Regions from separate parts of the Homo sapiens genome. Here region 2 is linked to region 1. Evidence: promoter capture Hi-C in human tissues and cell types (Jung and others, 2019). All regions are on one chromosome and are shown on one strand. The core of a region is centred on a gene start or on the middle of the fragment in contact, and the rest is flanking DNA. Distances in the headings are between cores, read along the strand shown.

The links. The method cuts DNA at HindIII sites, captures the fragments that hold promoters and counts their contacts. A contact is called where the count stands out against the background at its distance.
Region 2: a fragment that was not itself captured here is called in contact with the fragment with the promoter of SLC37A3 in region 1 in 1 of the 25 tissues and cell types used here (neural progenitor cells).

What each region holds. Positions count from the first base shown.
Region 1 is chr7:140,397,280-140,405,122 of GRCh38, forward strand. It overlaps SLC37A3 (solute carrier family 37 member 3), which reads right to left and starts at 1,251. Exons shown (of 15, transcript NM_207113.3): 1 at 1,137-1,251. RAB19 (RAB19, member RAS oncogene family) reads left to right here and starts at 6,779. Exons shown (of 4, transcript NM_001008749.3): 1 at 6,779-6,938. It overlaps LOC124901759 (a long non-coding RNA gene), which reads right to left and starts at 7,189. Exons shown (of 2, transcript XR_007060561.1): 1 at 6,906-7,189; 2 at 4,304-5,543. RefSeq lists silencers at 789-1,058, 1,169-1,398 and enhancers at 6,352-6,853, 6,854-7,353. The HindIII fragment of the contact is 36,664 bases long and covers 1-7,843 here.
Region 2 is chr7:140,248,928-140,256,770 of GRCh38, forward strand. It overlaps LOC107986854 (a long non-coding RNA gene), which reads left to right. Exons shown (of 2, transcript XR_001745386.2): 2 at 4,629-5,282. Among named protein-coding and RNA genes, the nearest start is that of KDM7A-DT, 76 kb to the left of the region's middle. RefSeq lists enhancers at 3,857-3,906, 3,937-4,006. The HindIII fragment of the contact is 7,260 bases long and covers 1-7,131 here.

The DNA of each region.
Region 1 (7,843 bases), core at 1-2,500:
GCCTCCCAGGTTCAAGCGATTCTCCTGCCTCAGCCTCCCGAGTAGCTGGGATTACAGGCATGCGCCACGACGCCCAGCTAATCTTTGTATTTTTAGTAGAGACGGGGTTTCACCATGTTGGCCAGGCTGGTCTTGAACTCCTGACCTCAAGGAATCCACAGGCCTCGGCCTCCCAAAGTGCTGGGATTACAGGCATGAGACACCGCGCCCAACCCGAAGCTCAATTTCCTCATGTATTAATTAAATGAGATAATTTATATGGAGTTCTTAGTATAGAGCCTAGTATCCAAGAAACATCAAACAAACTGAAAAGAAATCATTTAAGCACCAAAGCACTGAAGACATTCCCTTCAACAACTGTTATATATATTTATGTATGTATAAATTTGTGTAAAGGTAGAAATAAACCGGTGGACAAAAAGATAACAACTGAATGATTTTGCTCACCCCAGGAACCACTCCTCCCTATAAACTATAAACTTTTCAGTAAGAGTTACCACGAGATAGCCTACCATCTTACATTTCAAAAAAACACTAAAAACTCCGGGGACACATTCCCATTATCTCCTGTCAAAACTGAGAATAAACAGAACACACCCTGCGAAGAATAAGGAGGGAATGACGAATAATTTGACCAAATTCCTTGACTGAGTTCATGCTAGTTACCAGAAAACAAAACCAGTCACTCACTGAGACCACGCTTCTTCTCTGACCTCTATACATCCTTTCCAAAGAGCTTCCTTCCCCACCTACCTGAAAAGCATCCCCTCTCCCCTGGTCCGAACGACAAGCCCTTTTCTGATCAAGTCAGAATCTCCCAGACCCACGGCCGGAGGACAGGCGGGCGAGGAGCACAAAAGCCTCTGCCGCATGGATCGGGGCCGGGCCGCAGGGTCCCCCGGGGGTCCTTCTCCTCCCCATCCACCCCATCGCAGCCTCCCCGTGACGGCCGGGACCCCAGGCCCGGGCCCAGGGAGGAGAAGGAGGGGGCGAGCGGCCGACCCTGCCTGGGCGCCCCACCCAAGGGGGGCCGCCACCTACATCTCCCCACCGCCCTCCCGACCCGGGAAGCCCCTCGGATTGGACCCGCCCCCGCCCCAGCAGGTCTTCGGCCCCACGCATCACCGCTTGCGCACCCGAGATCCGCAGTGGTCGCCGCTCTCCAGCCCCGGCTCCGCTCGCCGGGTCAGCTTGGCTCCGCTGCCCGCCTCCCCCGCCGCCAGCTCACCCCTGGCGGTGCGACCAGGGTTTCCGGACGCCCACGTGACCCTCCCGTCGCGGGGCACGCTGGGAGTTGTAGTCCCGCCACGCGGCCTCACCTGCCGGCGCGGAGGAGGGCGAGGAGGGCGGAGGCTGGGAGCCCACAGAACTCTGCTGCTGCGGACCTGGCCAGTAATGTTAGCTGCAAAAGACGAGAGGTAGAGAGAAGAAATGATATGGGGAGAACTGGTGCATCCTTTTTTTTTTTTTTTTTTTTTTTTTTTCAAAAAAGCGGTATTCGGTCTTTGTTTTTATAAAAAGTAACGTGCTGCTAAGTGTGCTACTGACCGGCCTAAATTTTAGGTGTCTAATTAAATGCAGGCCGGGCACAGTGGGCTCACGCCTGTAATCCAACACTTTAGGAGGTCGAGAAGGGAGGATCACTTGAACCCAGTAGTTCAAGACCAGCCTTAGCAACATAGCCAGACCCCATCTCTACAAAAAATGTTAAAATTAGCCAGGAGTAGTGGCATGTGCCTGTGGTCCCTGCTACTGGGGCGACCGAGGTGCGAGGATCGCTTGAGCCCAAAAGTTTGAGGCTGGCAGCTGTGATTGCTCCACTGCACCAGCCTGGGCAACAGAACGAGACCCTGCCTCCAAAAAAAAAAAATCCAACACAAGTGTCTCACACCTGTAATCCTAACACTTTGGGAGGCCGAAGTAGGAGCATCATTTGAGAACAAGAGTTTGAGACCAGCCTGGGCAAGGTAGTGAGAGCCGCCCCCCATCCACCACCACCACCGCCGCCACCGTTTCTTAAATAAAGGGAAAAAATACAGACACTTGTTCGAATTTTAAAGAAAAAAAACTTCTCTTAATCCAGAAAATCTCCACAACAACCATTACATACCTGTTCTCAAGATAAACAATCACTAGTCTTCAAATAACAGAACTTGACAACACCTTTTGTCAAACATAGTTCCTCCTTACTTAATAGTAGTAATTGGGGAGACCACTCATGTTGGCTTTATCCAGAAGCAAAACAAACTTCGCATAACTTTTTGTTGTTGTTGTTCGTTTTTTAAACTTCGCATATCTTTTTGTTTGTTTGTTTTTTGTTTTTGAGACGGAGTCTTGCTCTGTTACCCAGGCTGGAGTGCAGTGGCGTGATCTCAGCTCACTGCAAGCTCCGCCTCCCGGGTTCAAGGGATTCTCCTGCCTCAGCCTCCCGAATAGCTGGGACTACAGGCGCCCGCCACCACGCCTGGCTAATTTTTTTGTATTTTTAGTAGAGACGGGGTTTCACCGTGTTAGCCAGGATGGTCTCGATCTCCTGACCTCGTGATCTGCCCTCCTTGGCCTCCCAAAGTTCTAGCATTACAGGTGTGAGCCACCGCAGCCGGCCAAAGTTCGCATATCTTTATAGCAGGAGGTAGTTTTACAAATTGGAGCAAGGCGCCCATACCCACTAATTTAGTCTCTTACCCTCATGTAGGAACTGGAAGATACAGGCACTAACTCACGTCTGAATTTCAAAAAGATGACCCCCAAGTCCTTGAGGATACATTTCTGAGTTGTGATACTGGCAAGAGGCTCATTTCGCCGTTATAAAGATTTGTGTACATTCGAAAAGGACAGAGAAAGAAATTTTGAAGGAACAGAGAGAAGGCTGAGAAGTCTCTTTATTTTCAGCAGAGGAATTAAGCCTGTTATTTTTCATTTTTATTTGCCCTTATACAGTGGTAGTTTTGTTTCTAGCCCTTATACAGTGGTAGTTTTGTCTCTAGGCATCCAAGGAGAAATATGATGTCAGGGTGAGCAAAAATAAATGAGCCAAATATGTTACTTTTATTTTTAAAAATATATTGTGAATCGTTTATTTTTCAGCCTAAAAAAGGTAGCAAATTCTGACACATACTACAACATAGACGAACCTTCAAAAACATTATGCTAAGTGAAATAAGTCAGACATAAAAGGACCAGTACAGTACAGTTCCACTTATATGAGGTAGCCAGAGTAGTGAAATTCATAGAGTCAGAAAGTAGCATGGTGGTTGCCCATGGCTGGAGGGAAGGGGAAATGAGAAATTGTTGTTTAATGGCTATGGAGTTTCCGTTTGGGATGCCAAAAAAGTCCTGGAGATGGATGGTGATGTTGGTTGCACAACAATGTATTTAATGCCATTGAATTGTACACTTAAAAACGGTTAAAATGGTAAATATATATACATAGAGTGAAATACATAGTTTTTTGTGTTATATTTACATATGGGTGTATACATATATATGTGTGTGTGTATACTTCAAGTATATAACCTGTGTCACCACCACTCAGGGCTAGAATGCCTTCTTAGCCATGTGGTGGTGTGTATCTTTAATCCCAGCTACTAGGGAGGTTGAGGTAGGAGGATCACTTCAGCCGCACCTTTGGAGGCTGCAGTGAGCTATGATCGTACCACTGTGCTCCAGCCTGGGTGACAGAGGGAGACCCAGTCTCTTAAAAAAGAAAAAACAGTGTATATATACACACACATTTATACATATGAATGCCTTCTTTCCTGTAGCCCAAGCTATGCTCTTTGTATTTATAGTGACCTTGGTGGAGAGGGTTGGGTGGTAGACAGAGGTAAGATCTCTCTCCCCTTGACTTCCAAAACCATCAGGATATTTAAATATTTGTAACATTTGTTTTCTACCTGTAGATGTTCTCCAAGTGCTCAGTGGGTCTGAGTCAGGTGACTTTTTTTTTAAACAGTAACCACCCCAGGTGCGGTGGCTCACCCCTATAATCCCAGCACTTTGGAAGGCCGAGGCAAGTGGATCACCTGAGGTCAGGAGTTCCAGACCAGCCTGGCCAACATAGTGAAACCCCATCTCTACTAAAAATACAAAAATTAGCTGGACGTGGTGGCGGGTGCCTGTAATCCCAACTACTCGGGAGGCTGAGGCAGGAGAATCGCTTGAACCCGGGAGGTGGAGGTTGCAGTGAGCCAAGATCGCACCATTGCACTCGAGCCTGAGTGACAAAAGCTAAACCTTATCTCAGGAAAAAAAAAAAAAAAGTAACCATTACCAGAAGAAAGACAACATTTGGACACTGAACTTCATGACACTGACACCTAACAGGTTTTATTTCCTGATCACACATTTGGGGCGAATCTTTACCTACACTGGATTTCCACATTGTGCTGGTGGTTCTCACCCTGCAGCAATATTTGGCAGAGTCTTTTGTTTTCTTGCTATACCTGCCAGTGTTGAGTTTATCTCACTCAGAAGAGAGTATCCTGAAAATGGATATGTAACTGGAATTTTGGGTAAGACAAATATTTTCAAATTTATCTGAAGACATCATAGAAGTAATGTTCTTGGACAGTGAATAAATTGCCCTGTATTTCAGTGCTTCTCAAACGTTGCGGACCCCAGCCTACAGTTAAAAAGACATTTCAGGCCAGGCACGGTGGCCCACGCCTGTTATCCCAGCACCTTGGGAGGCTGATGTGGGAGGATTGCTTGATCCCAGGAGTTCGAGACCAGTCTGGGTAACAAAGTGAGGCCCTGGCTCTACAAAAAAATGAAATAAATAGCTGGGCATGATGGTGCACACCTGTAGTCCCAGATATACAGGAGGCTAAGGCAGGAAGATTGCTTGAGCCCAGGAGGTTGAGGCCGCAGTGAGCCATGACGGTGCCACTGCACTTCAGCCTGGGAGACAAAGTGAGACCCTGTCTCAAAAAAAACATTTTTTTTTTACATCACCCTGTAAAATATGCATGTGTACAACTGACCCAAACATTTTGCAAAACAGTAGTCACTGTTACTACACAAGATACATTCTGAAGTTGTTTCTTAATCCCTTCTTGTGAAAATGCTGGTTGCAACCCACAAAGGTTGATTTCATGACTCATTTATAGGTCTCAGCCCACAGTTTGGAAACAGGACACCGATGTAAATATTTTATCCAACAGGGTGTCTCTGTTTCAATTTTGCTTATTGTGTCTATAATGCCATTTAACTGCCTACATATCACATCCTATGTAGTGGAGAAAATCTGGTCCCTGTGATAGACATTGGGAGGCAGTTACTGTTCTAGACTCTGGGGAAAAAATAGTAAGGAAAATTCACCTCAGCTTTATGCTTCTACTGCCAGCATCTGGGACTGATAAACTTGAGGTTTTCTGGACGTCAACCTTTGCTCTATGGTAGAATTTTTGAGGGAGTGAGGCAGACATTTTCTTTTCAGCTTTTTCTTCTCATATACCTTCAAAGTTCTTTTAGTTTTGTTTTTGCTTCCTTCTCTTTGCATCATCTCCTTTCTCTGACTCCTCACAAAGAGATATTCAGATCTACAAAACAAAGACTTAAATTACTTACAATCTGGCCAGGTACGGTGGTTTCATGCCTTGTAATCCCAGCACTTCGGGAAGCCAAGGCAGGAGGATCACTTGAGCCCAGGAGTTTCTTCTCTTTTTTTCTTTTTTTTTTTGAGACGGAGTCTCACTCTGTCACCCAGGCTGGAGTGCAGTGGCGCGACCTTGGCTCACTGCAACCTCCACCTCGCAGGCTCAAGCGATTCTCCTGCCAGAGTAGCTGGGATTATAGGCTCACCACCAGACCCGGGTAATTTTTGTATTTTTAGTAGAGATGGGGTTTTGCCATGTTGGCCAGGCTGGTCTCGAACTCCTGACCTCAGGTGATCTGCCCACCTCAGCCTCCCAAAGTGCTGGGATCACAGGCATGAGCCACCATGCCTGGCCAAACCCAGGAGTGTCAAACCACCATGGGCAACATAGGGAGATCCCAGCTCTAAAAACAATAAATAGTGGGGCATGGTGGTGTATGACTGTAGTCCCAGCTACTTGGGAGGCTGAAGTGGGAGGCTTCCTTGAGCCTGGGATGTTGTGGCTGCAGTGAGCCATAATTATGCCTCTGCACTCCAGCCTGAGCCATAGAGCAAGACCCTGTCTCTAAAAAATATGTATATATAATAAAATAAATTACTTAAGATCTATATCCTCCTTTAGTTGGTGTTATCTCAACTAACAACCCTCAGGCCAGCTGTAGTCCCAGATATTCAGGAGGCTGAGGCAGGTGGATTGCTTGAGCCCGGGAGGTTGAGGCTGCAGTGAGCCATGAATGGTGCCACTGCACTTCAGCCTGGGTGACAGAGTGAGACCTTGTCTCCAAAAAAAAAAAAAAAATTTTTTTTTTACATCACCCAGTACAATATGCACATGTACAACTGACCCAAACATTTTGCAAAACAGTCGCTGTTACTACATGAGATACATTCTGAAATTGTTTCCTAACAAGGGACACCAGGACAAATTGAGAGCAAAGGACGCAAAAGCCCACAAGACAAGGTAAAGTAGAAGAAAGGAGCAGGGGCAGTGTCGTATGGGCCAGCACTGGTTTAATTCACTGGCTGTTCCTTCCTGTGAGGGCTTTCCGCTAGGCCGGCGAAGGCTGGTGAGAAAGCCGGCTCTGCGCCCTGCCCTGTGCTGGCCGCCCTCACCTGGCGCTTTGTACCCTGAGGCAGCTCCGGACTCAGGGCAGGTGGGAGGGATTGCACTTTCCTTTCACTTTCTCAGGACGCCAAACCCGACACCTGGGGCCAGAACTACACTTCCCACCAAGCAGCGAGGCAGGAGGAAGAAGGGGGCACTGGGGGGCTGAAAAGCAAACCCAGAAGAAAGCGAAAACATTACCTGCTGACCAGCAGAGGTGAGAGAGCGAGACAGGTAAGCGACAGGTGAACCAGGAAGGCGAAGGCTGCGGGATGCCGGCGGGAGGACATCATCGGGGTGGACGCTGCCTGTGCCTCCCAGCAAGGCTTGTAGGCTCAATGAAAGGGGGCTTTAGTGGAAACCCTGAGGACTCCTGAGGGTGGGGGGAGACATGGAAGTAAAGTCTCAGCTCAAGTTACAGTGATAAGACCAAGACACCGGAAGTGGAATGGCTGTCTTTAGTTGAAAAGTCAGACAGGAAAAAAGTGGTTTGATTGTGTCTGTTGTCTGCTGGATCATCTACCCATATGTGATTTCAGAGAGGTCCAAGAGAGGTATGGGATCCTTCTTCATCGCCTTAAAGCCCTGGGTTTTTGCATGCAGATTGGACATTTGAGTGCATTTTACCTTGTGTGATGAGACAGAGTGTCCTTGTCTATGACTTTAGAGAAAACCAAAGTAAAACGGAGAGGTGAAGAAGGATGTCACAAGGCAGGGGCAATTTGCAGCACATCAAATGTAATCATTAAGTGGGATCAGGTTTCAGTTACTTTTAGAGCAATTGGATGAGGAGTCCGAACACACTCTCAGGAAGAACAGTTAAAGAGGATGGGGATATTCTCCTTGGGGGAATATTCTTGCTGCTTCAAATATCTGATGGGCTGTCATGTGGAACAGGAATGTGATGTGTCTTGGCAGAGTAAGGATAGCACGGAGCTAGACAGATGGAAACCTCATGGAGGGAGGTGTCAATCCCACAGAAGTGAGAGCTGCCCAGTGCAAAATGGAAATTTTTCAGGAGGTAGTCAGTTCCTTGTGATCAGAGATATTTAAGCATAGGTGGACATTTAAGCCAGGGATGCTGATGGTGGGAGTAAGTTTCAGGTAGGTGACTTGGTCGATTGGTGTTTTCCAAACCT
Region 2 (7,843 bases), core at 2,252-4,751, 150 kb before region 1:
TTTTATCAGATAACACATTTGCATTATTTGAAAAGTAAAATAATCTTTAAAATCTTAAAGCAAGCAATTCCTTCCCCACTATTCCCCCCCTTGATTTTCAGAAGCAGCCTCTTTTTAGCTTTCACCAGCTTCTCCAGTTTTCTCCGTTGCATTTATTATCTGTTGTCTTCCTTCTTTGGGAAACAAGGATTTAGCTATCATATATCTTCTCTTCCCCATCCTCCTAATTTGCTTGTGTTGCAATTTCTGGTTTAATCAGTAGCCAGTGTTTATTCTGACAATGCAGCCATTATTCACAGCTGAGCTGCGGAGTGTAACATGATTATATTTCCTATCTGGTACAAACTTTTTCTTGTTTTCCCTGAAGATAAATATTGCCTTATTTTCTATTTGTTCAACTGTCTATGTACCTATTGCTAATTCTTCTCCAGACTCTACTGGAAATGTGAATCTTTGCTCACTGTATTTAGACATAGCAGGTTGTCCTGGTTTCATGTGTTTTTCTAGGAGGCATCCTCAAGTCCTCCATCCCTATCCTCCTGCTCCCAACTCTGCTCTCTTCCCATTTCCTGGGCTTCAAGGCTTCCTCTTTATTTATTCCTTCATTTTCATGGAATATATCATCCTACAGTTTCCTAAGAAAGGCTGCTTGGGCTGGGTGTGGTGGCTCCCACCTGTAATCCCAGCACTTTGGGAGGCTGAGGTGGGTGGATCACTTGAGGCCAAGAGTTCAAGACCAGCCTGTCCAACATGTCAAAACACTGTCTGTACTAAAAATACAAAACTTAGCTGGGTGTGGTGGTGCACACCTGTTATCCCAGCTACTTGGGAGGCTGAAGCACAAGAATTGCTTGAACCCGGGAGGTGGAGGTTGCAGTGAGCAGAGATTGCACCACTGCACTCCAGCCTGGGAGACAGAGCGAGACTCCATCTCAAATAAAAAATAAAATAAAAGAAGAAAGGCTGCTTGGGAGGTTAAAATTTTGAAAGCTTACATTTCTGAAAGTGTCTCTATTCTTCATTCACACTTGCATGTTAGCTTTGAATTCATCATATTCCAGCTTCTAGCGTTGTGCTTGAGAAGAGCAAAGCTATTGCCATTTCTGATCTGTAGTACATAACCTGCTATTTTTTTTTTTATCCTGGAAGCTTTTTAGATCTTATTCATAGTTGTTCTGAAATTTCACAATGTTGTGCCTTGGTAGGGGATTTTTTTTCCATTCATTGCCTTGGATACTCGGGTAGGCCCTTTCAATCTAGAAACATATGGTCTTCCATTTTAGAATTTTTTTTCTTGAATTACTGTTATTTTTTAAAACATTATTTCCTCCTTTCCATTTTCTGTATTCTCTCTTTATGGAACTCCAATTACTCAAATGTCAGACTTCCTAAATTGATGTAGAAGGTCTCTGATTTTCTAACTGTCTTTCTCCTATTTTCTGACCCTTTTTTCCTACTTTCTGTGATTTTTTTTTCAACTTTACCTTCTGACTTTTCTTTTTTCTTCTTTTCTTTTGAGACAGGGTCTCACTCTGTCACCCAAGCTGGAGTGCGGTGGTTTGATCATAGCTCACTGCAGCCTTAAACTTCTAGGCTAAAGCGATCCTCCTACCTTGGCCTCCCAAGTAGGTGGGACAACAGGCATGTGCCACCATGCCTGACAAATTTTTTATTTTTTGTAGTGACAGGGTCTCGCTATGTTGCCCAAGCTGGTCTCGAATTCCTAGGCTCAAGAGATCCTCCTGCCTCAGCCTTCCAAAGTGTTGGGATTACAGGCATGAGCCACCACACCTGACGTCTTGAATTTTTAGTTTCTACTATCACAGCTCAACCTTCCATGAATGCTTTTATTCACTGAATATTCAGTTTTAAGAAACAATATTGGCTGGGTGCGGTGGCTCACGCCTGTAATCCCAGCATTTTGGGAGGCTGAGGCTGGTGGATCACCTAAGGTCAGGAGTTCGAGACCAGCAGGGCCGACTGGCAAAATCCTGTCTCTACTAAAAATATAAAAATTAGCTGGGCGTGGTGGCACATACTTGTAATTCCAGCTACTCGGGAGGCTGAGGGAGGAAAATCCCTTGAACCCGGGAGGCGGAGGTTGCAGTGAGCCAAGATTGTACCACTGCACTCCAGCCTGGGTGACAGAGGAAGACTCCATCTCAAAACAAAACAGAACAAAACAAAGCAAAACAAAGAAAGATTTGCATGTATGATGGAGTGATTTTAGAATGGGGTGATCAGACAGGGGCCAGTCATTCTTGGGGGAATCCCCTATGATACATTTCCATGTCTCTTCTTTTGGTGGTCAGTTTCCTATGGGAGTTCTCTGAACTCCCTCCCCATAGTTATAAATGTGTCTGCCAGTGTCTAGGAGTCAAATATGAGGACAGCACGGGTTGGTACATTGACTTTCATTTCATCCCCCTTCTTTGATACTCATCTTCCACCTTCAGTTGTTCCTAAGTCCAAAGTTCCTCTAACTCAAACTCCCCATACAATAAGTGGTCCGTCTCTGATGAAGGCTGAGAGAAAGTAGTAGCTTGTTGCATAGGCTAAGGGAAGAACTGCAGGGATTAACTCTCATTTTTTTTTGAGATGGAGTCTCGCTCTGTGGCCCAGGCTGGAGTGCAGTGGCACCGTCTTAGCTTACTGCAACCTCTGCCTCCCAGGTTCAAATGATTCTCCTGCCTCAGCCTCCTGAGTAGCTGGGAATACAGGCATGCACCACCATGCCTGGCTAATTTTTGTATTTTTAGTAGAGAGGGGGTTTCACCATGTTGGCAAGGCTGGTCTCAAACTCCTGACCTCAAGTGATCTGCCCGCCTTGGCCTCCCAAAGTGCTGGGATTACAGGCGTGGGCCACCGTGCCCAGCCTTAACTATTGCTTAAGAAAACTTTTTATTTTTATTTTTTTCTTGCCCTGTTGCCTAGGCTGGAGTGCAGTGGACCGAGCATGACTCACTGCAGCCTCAACCTCCTGGGCTCAAGTGATCCTCCTGCCTCAGCCTACTGAGTAGCTGGGACCACAGGTGTGCATCACCAGCCCCTGGCTAATTTTTGTGTTTTTTGTAGAGATGGGGTCTTACTATGTTGCCCAGGTTGGAAGAAAACTTTTAATCAGTGCTCTAGTTTTCAGCCGCAGCCATGCCTTTTCAGAAGTATCTGGTACCTCCAATTCCTAAGCCTTTGGGGTGTTTCAGAGGCATGGATTGGCTTGTTTTCTTGGCTTCCCCATTTTGAGACCCTTTACTCTGGTGTGTGAGGTTCATTATCTCTCAAATTTCCAGCTTAAAAATCTTTTTGATCCTTCTCTTTGCTCTTACCTCTCTTATGGACTTATGCTTTTCAAAAAAAGTCTCTTGCCTCACATTTTAGTGGGGTTTTGGGAGGAGGCCCAGGAGTATGCACATGTTCAACCGGCTATGTTTAATGGGAAGTCCTCCGAGCCCACAGAGTTTTCAACTCTCGTTTTATTGAACTAGGCCTCCTCATATAAACCTATGTCCAGTTTTAAAATGGAAGTCAAGTAAAAATGTGATTTGATTCACATAGTTTTAAGAACAGCTTTTATTTATTTATGTATTTATTTTTTGAGATGGAGTCTGGCTCTTTCACTCAGGCTGGAGTGCAGTGGTGTGATCTCGGCTCACTGCAACCTCTGCCTCCTGGGTTCAAGCGATTCTCTTGCCTCAGCCTCCTGAGTAGCTGGGACATCAGGCGTGCACCATCATGCACAGCTAATTTTTGTATTTTTAGTAGAGACGGGGTTTCACCATGTTGGCCAGGCTGGTCTCGAACTCCTGACCTTGTGATCCACCTGCCTTGGCCTCCCAAAGTGCTGTGATTACAGGTGTGAGCCACCACGCCTGGCCTAAGAACAGCTTTTAGAGATGCTTTTGGCCTATGTGGCTAGATATGAATTCTCACTCTGAGTATAATTGTCTGACTGTCATGTGTTGACTGTGTACACACAGCTCAAACCCAGAGTCCAGCCTTGTCTCTTCTGATGAAATACCAGTGCCCACAAACAGAAGGTTCCCCTTCTCTCACCCATGAATAAACAGGAAGGTCTCTTGGAGCTGTGGTCTTGGGGCTGTAGCCCTGCCCCTAATTTCCTCAGACCCTTTACTGAGAACTGAGTCATTGCAACATCATGCTCAGCCAGCTGTCTCAGCACAAGAAAAAGCTTTGCTGTGGTATGAGGTTTTGTGGGCTGCAGACTACATCTAGGTCAGCAAATTAAACTCCATAGTGTGGTTACCAATTCCAGCTTCATCTAGCTTAAGGGCTGTCTGATTTCACCCTCTGGGCATTGGCTCTTCTGGTGTTTGGGATATAAGGCCCCTCTGTGGGTGTTTAAGGCACAATATTTCAGGCCTAAACCACCGAATGACACATGCCTAAACCCAGAATCCTGTATTCTCCACCAGGACTCCAGGGTATGTGAGGGTAACAATAGTCCAACCCTGCAGATAATGAGATTTGTGTGTGTGTTAGAACAAAGGGGAAAGGTGGGGATGTATTTCTTTGATGCTCAGTTTCATCTACCACTTGTATTTCTCTCCTGCCCTTCTTTGACCCTAACATGATCCAAACCCTTCTTTCTTGCTTCTCTTTTATGGAAGTTTTGAAGAATGGATGGTTACATAACAGATGGCCAGCTGGTCTACCTAGAAGGGCCTTACAAAGGACAGTGCCTCCGTGGGGAAGGCTCACCCTGGATCAGACGCCGGATTGCAGATTTACCATGAATGAAGCCCTTGGAGACTGAATCATGTTAAAAATTCAAAAACAACTCAGTAAATATTTATTTGAAGTCCTGCTGTTCTTCAAGGCCCTGGAATGCAGATATGAGAAGAGTCACTGCTGCCCAAGAGCTGACTGACTGTGGAGGAAGACCATGCTAGCAGGTGGCTACGTTTTCTACCACCTAGCACCTGCTCCCCCTTCTCCTGGTAATGGTATCTGCAAATAATCTCCTCAGTCTGTGTGCTTTCAGTGGAACTGAATCTACCCCTGGTTCAAGAGCTCAGGTACAGCCTCTGGCCTGGCTGCAGTGATTAGTTTAGAGATGGACTTGTAACCTCATCAAAGCCCGATATTGTTCAGGGTAACATACTAGATATATTTTGCTAGGATTGCCAATAATCATTTATTTAAGCTCCTTAGATGAGGTTTCCTGTCATTTGCAACTGAAAAAGCTCTGTGTAGCAGGTTGAATAGTGTTCACCCCCTGCCCAAAAAATACACTCACATCCACCCAGAACTTTGGAACTTTAGAATATGATCTTATTTATTTATTTATTTATTTGAGACAGAGACTCACTCTGTCGCCAGGCTAGAGTGCAGTGGCATGATCTCAGCTCACTGCAACCTCAGCCTCCCAAGAAGCTGGGACTACAGGTATGTGCCACCACGCCCAGCTAATTTTTGTATTTTTAGTAGAGACGGGGTTTCACCATGTTGGCCAGGATGGTCTATCTCTTGACCTCATGATCTGCCCACCTCAACCTCCCAAAGTGCTGGGATTACAGGTGTGAGCGACGGTGCCTGGCCTGATCTTATTTTTAAAAGAGCCTTTACAGATGTAATTAGTTAAGGATCTTGAGATGCAATCATTATGGATGTAAATTTAGGTGGGCCCTAAATCTAACAATTGGTGTCCTTATATGATGAGGAGATATCACAGACGCAAAGACACAGGGCATATGACCATGTGAAGAGGAAGGCAGAGGGTAGGGCGATGCTGCCGTAAGACAAGGATGCCTGGGCCACCAGAGGCTAGGAAGGGGCAAGGAAGGCCCTCCCCCTTAGAGCCTTCAGGGGGAGCATAGCTCTCCTGACACTTTGATTTCCAACTTCTAGCCTCCAGAATGGTGAGAGAGAATTTTCCACTGTTTTTAAGCCAACCAGCTTGTGACACTTGGTTAATGGCAGCCCTAGGAAACAAGTGCACTCTAACATGTGAAATCACTCAACAGATATTTATTGGTTCCTAATAATGTGTCTGAAAAGGACTTAGTATAAAATCCAAAGAAGAGGGACATGGAGGCTGTAGAGAGGTATTAGAGCTGGGACATTAGGAAGCCTAAAGAACCATCTGTCCCACTGTCCTGCACCCCGATGGGTGCCTCTGGAAGGGCCTGGAGAAACCATGGAATTTATGTTCTTTGGGCTCCCTTTTTGTCGGGTTAAGACAGGGACTCACTCTGTCAGCCAGGCTGGAGTGCAGTGGCGCAATCACGGCTCACTGCAGCCTCAATCTGCCAGGCTTAAGCAATCCTCCCATCTCAGCCTCCCAACTAGCTGGGACTATAGGTGCATGCCACCACGCCCAGCTAATTTTTGTATTTTTGTAGAGATAAGGTTTCATCATGTTGCCCAGGCTGGTCTTGAACTCCTGGGCTCAAGCCATCCGCCCACCTCGGCCCCTCGCAGGGCTCGGATTCCAGGCATGAATCCCCCCGCCCAGCCTCCCTGGGCTTTTTGCAGGTCATTCTCCTAATTTATGGATGTCCTTCCTCAGTAAGGACATGAGCTCTGCTTGATATAAATTGAAAATATTCGGCCGGGCACGATGGCTCATGCCTGTAATCCCAGCACTTTGTGAGGCCAAGGCGGGCGAATCACGAGGTCAGGAGTTCAAGACCAGCCTGACCAATATGGTGAAACCCCGTCTCTACTAAAAATACAAAAATTAGCCGGGCGTGGTGGTGCATGCCTGTAATCCCAGCTACTCGGGAGGCTGAGGAAGGAGAATCACTTGAACCTGGGAGGCAGAGGTTGCAGTGAGCCCAGATCACGCCACTGCACTCCAGCCTGGGTGACAGAGTGAGACTCCGTCTCAAAAAAAAAAAAAAAAAAGAAAGAAAATATTCCTCCCAGTTTGTTCTTTGACTTTGTTTATAGTGATTTTTGCCCTGCAGTTTTTTTTTTTTTTTTTTTGAGATGGAGTCTTGCTCTTGTTGCCCAGGCTGGAGCGCAATGGCATGATCTCAGCTCACTGCGACCCCTGACTCCCGGGTTCAAGCAATTTTCCTGCCTCAGCCTGTTGAGTAGCTAGGATTACAGGTAATGCGCCAGCACGCCCGGCTAATTTTATATTTTTAGTAGAGATAGGGTTTCTCCATGTTGGTCGGGCTGGTTTTGAACTCCCGACCTCACGTGATCTGCCTGCCTTGGCCTCCCAAAGTGCTGGGATTACAGGCGTGAACCACTGTGCCCAGCCCAATTTCTATTTTTCTTTTTCTTTTTTTTTGAGACGGAGTCTCGCTCTGTCACCCAGGCTGGAGTGCAGTGGTGCGATCTCTGCTCACTGCAAGCTCCTCCTCCCAGGTTCACGTCATTTTCCCACCTCAGTCTCCAGAGTAGCTGGGACTACAGGCGCCCGCCACCATGCCTGGCTAATTTTTTTTGTATTTTTAGTAGAGACAGGGTTTCACCATGTCAGCCAGGATGGTCTCGATCTCCTGACCTCGTGATCCGTCCGCCTCGGCCTCCCAAAGTGCTGGGATTACAGGTGTGAGCCACCACGCCCGGCCCCAATTTCTGTTTTTTACATAGTCAAATTTATCAACATTTTTTATGGCTTATGGGTTTTGTTTTGGTTTTCTGAACTCTCTGCTCCTGTTCTTTTATCTAGTACTCCATATTCTGGAGTAAGGCAGAGTCCTTTCATATTTACCTGTATTTCCCTTACACTGCATTTCGGTCACCTTTATTGGTTTCCCAAAAACCAGCACCAGTAATAATAGCTACCAACCATTGTGTCTAGGCATTGTACTACTCATTGAGTATCAATGAGTATAAAGAGCTTTATATTCAGTATCTTTCATCTTCT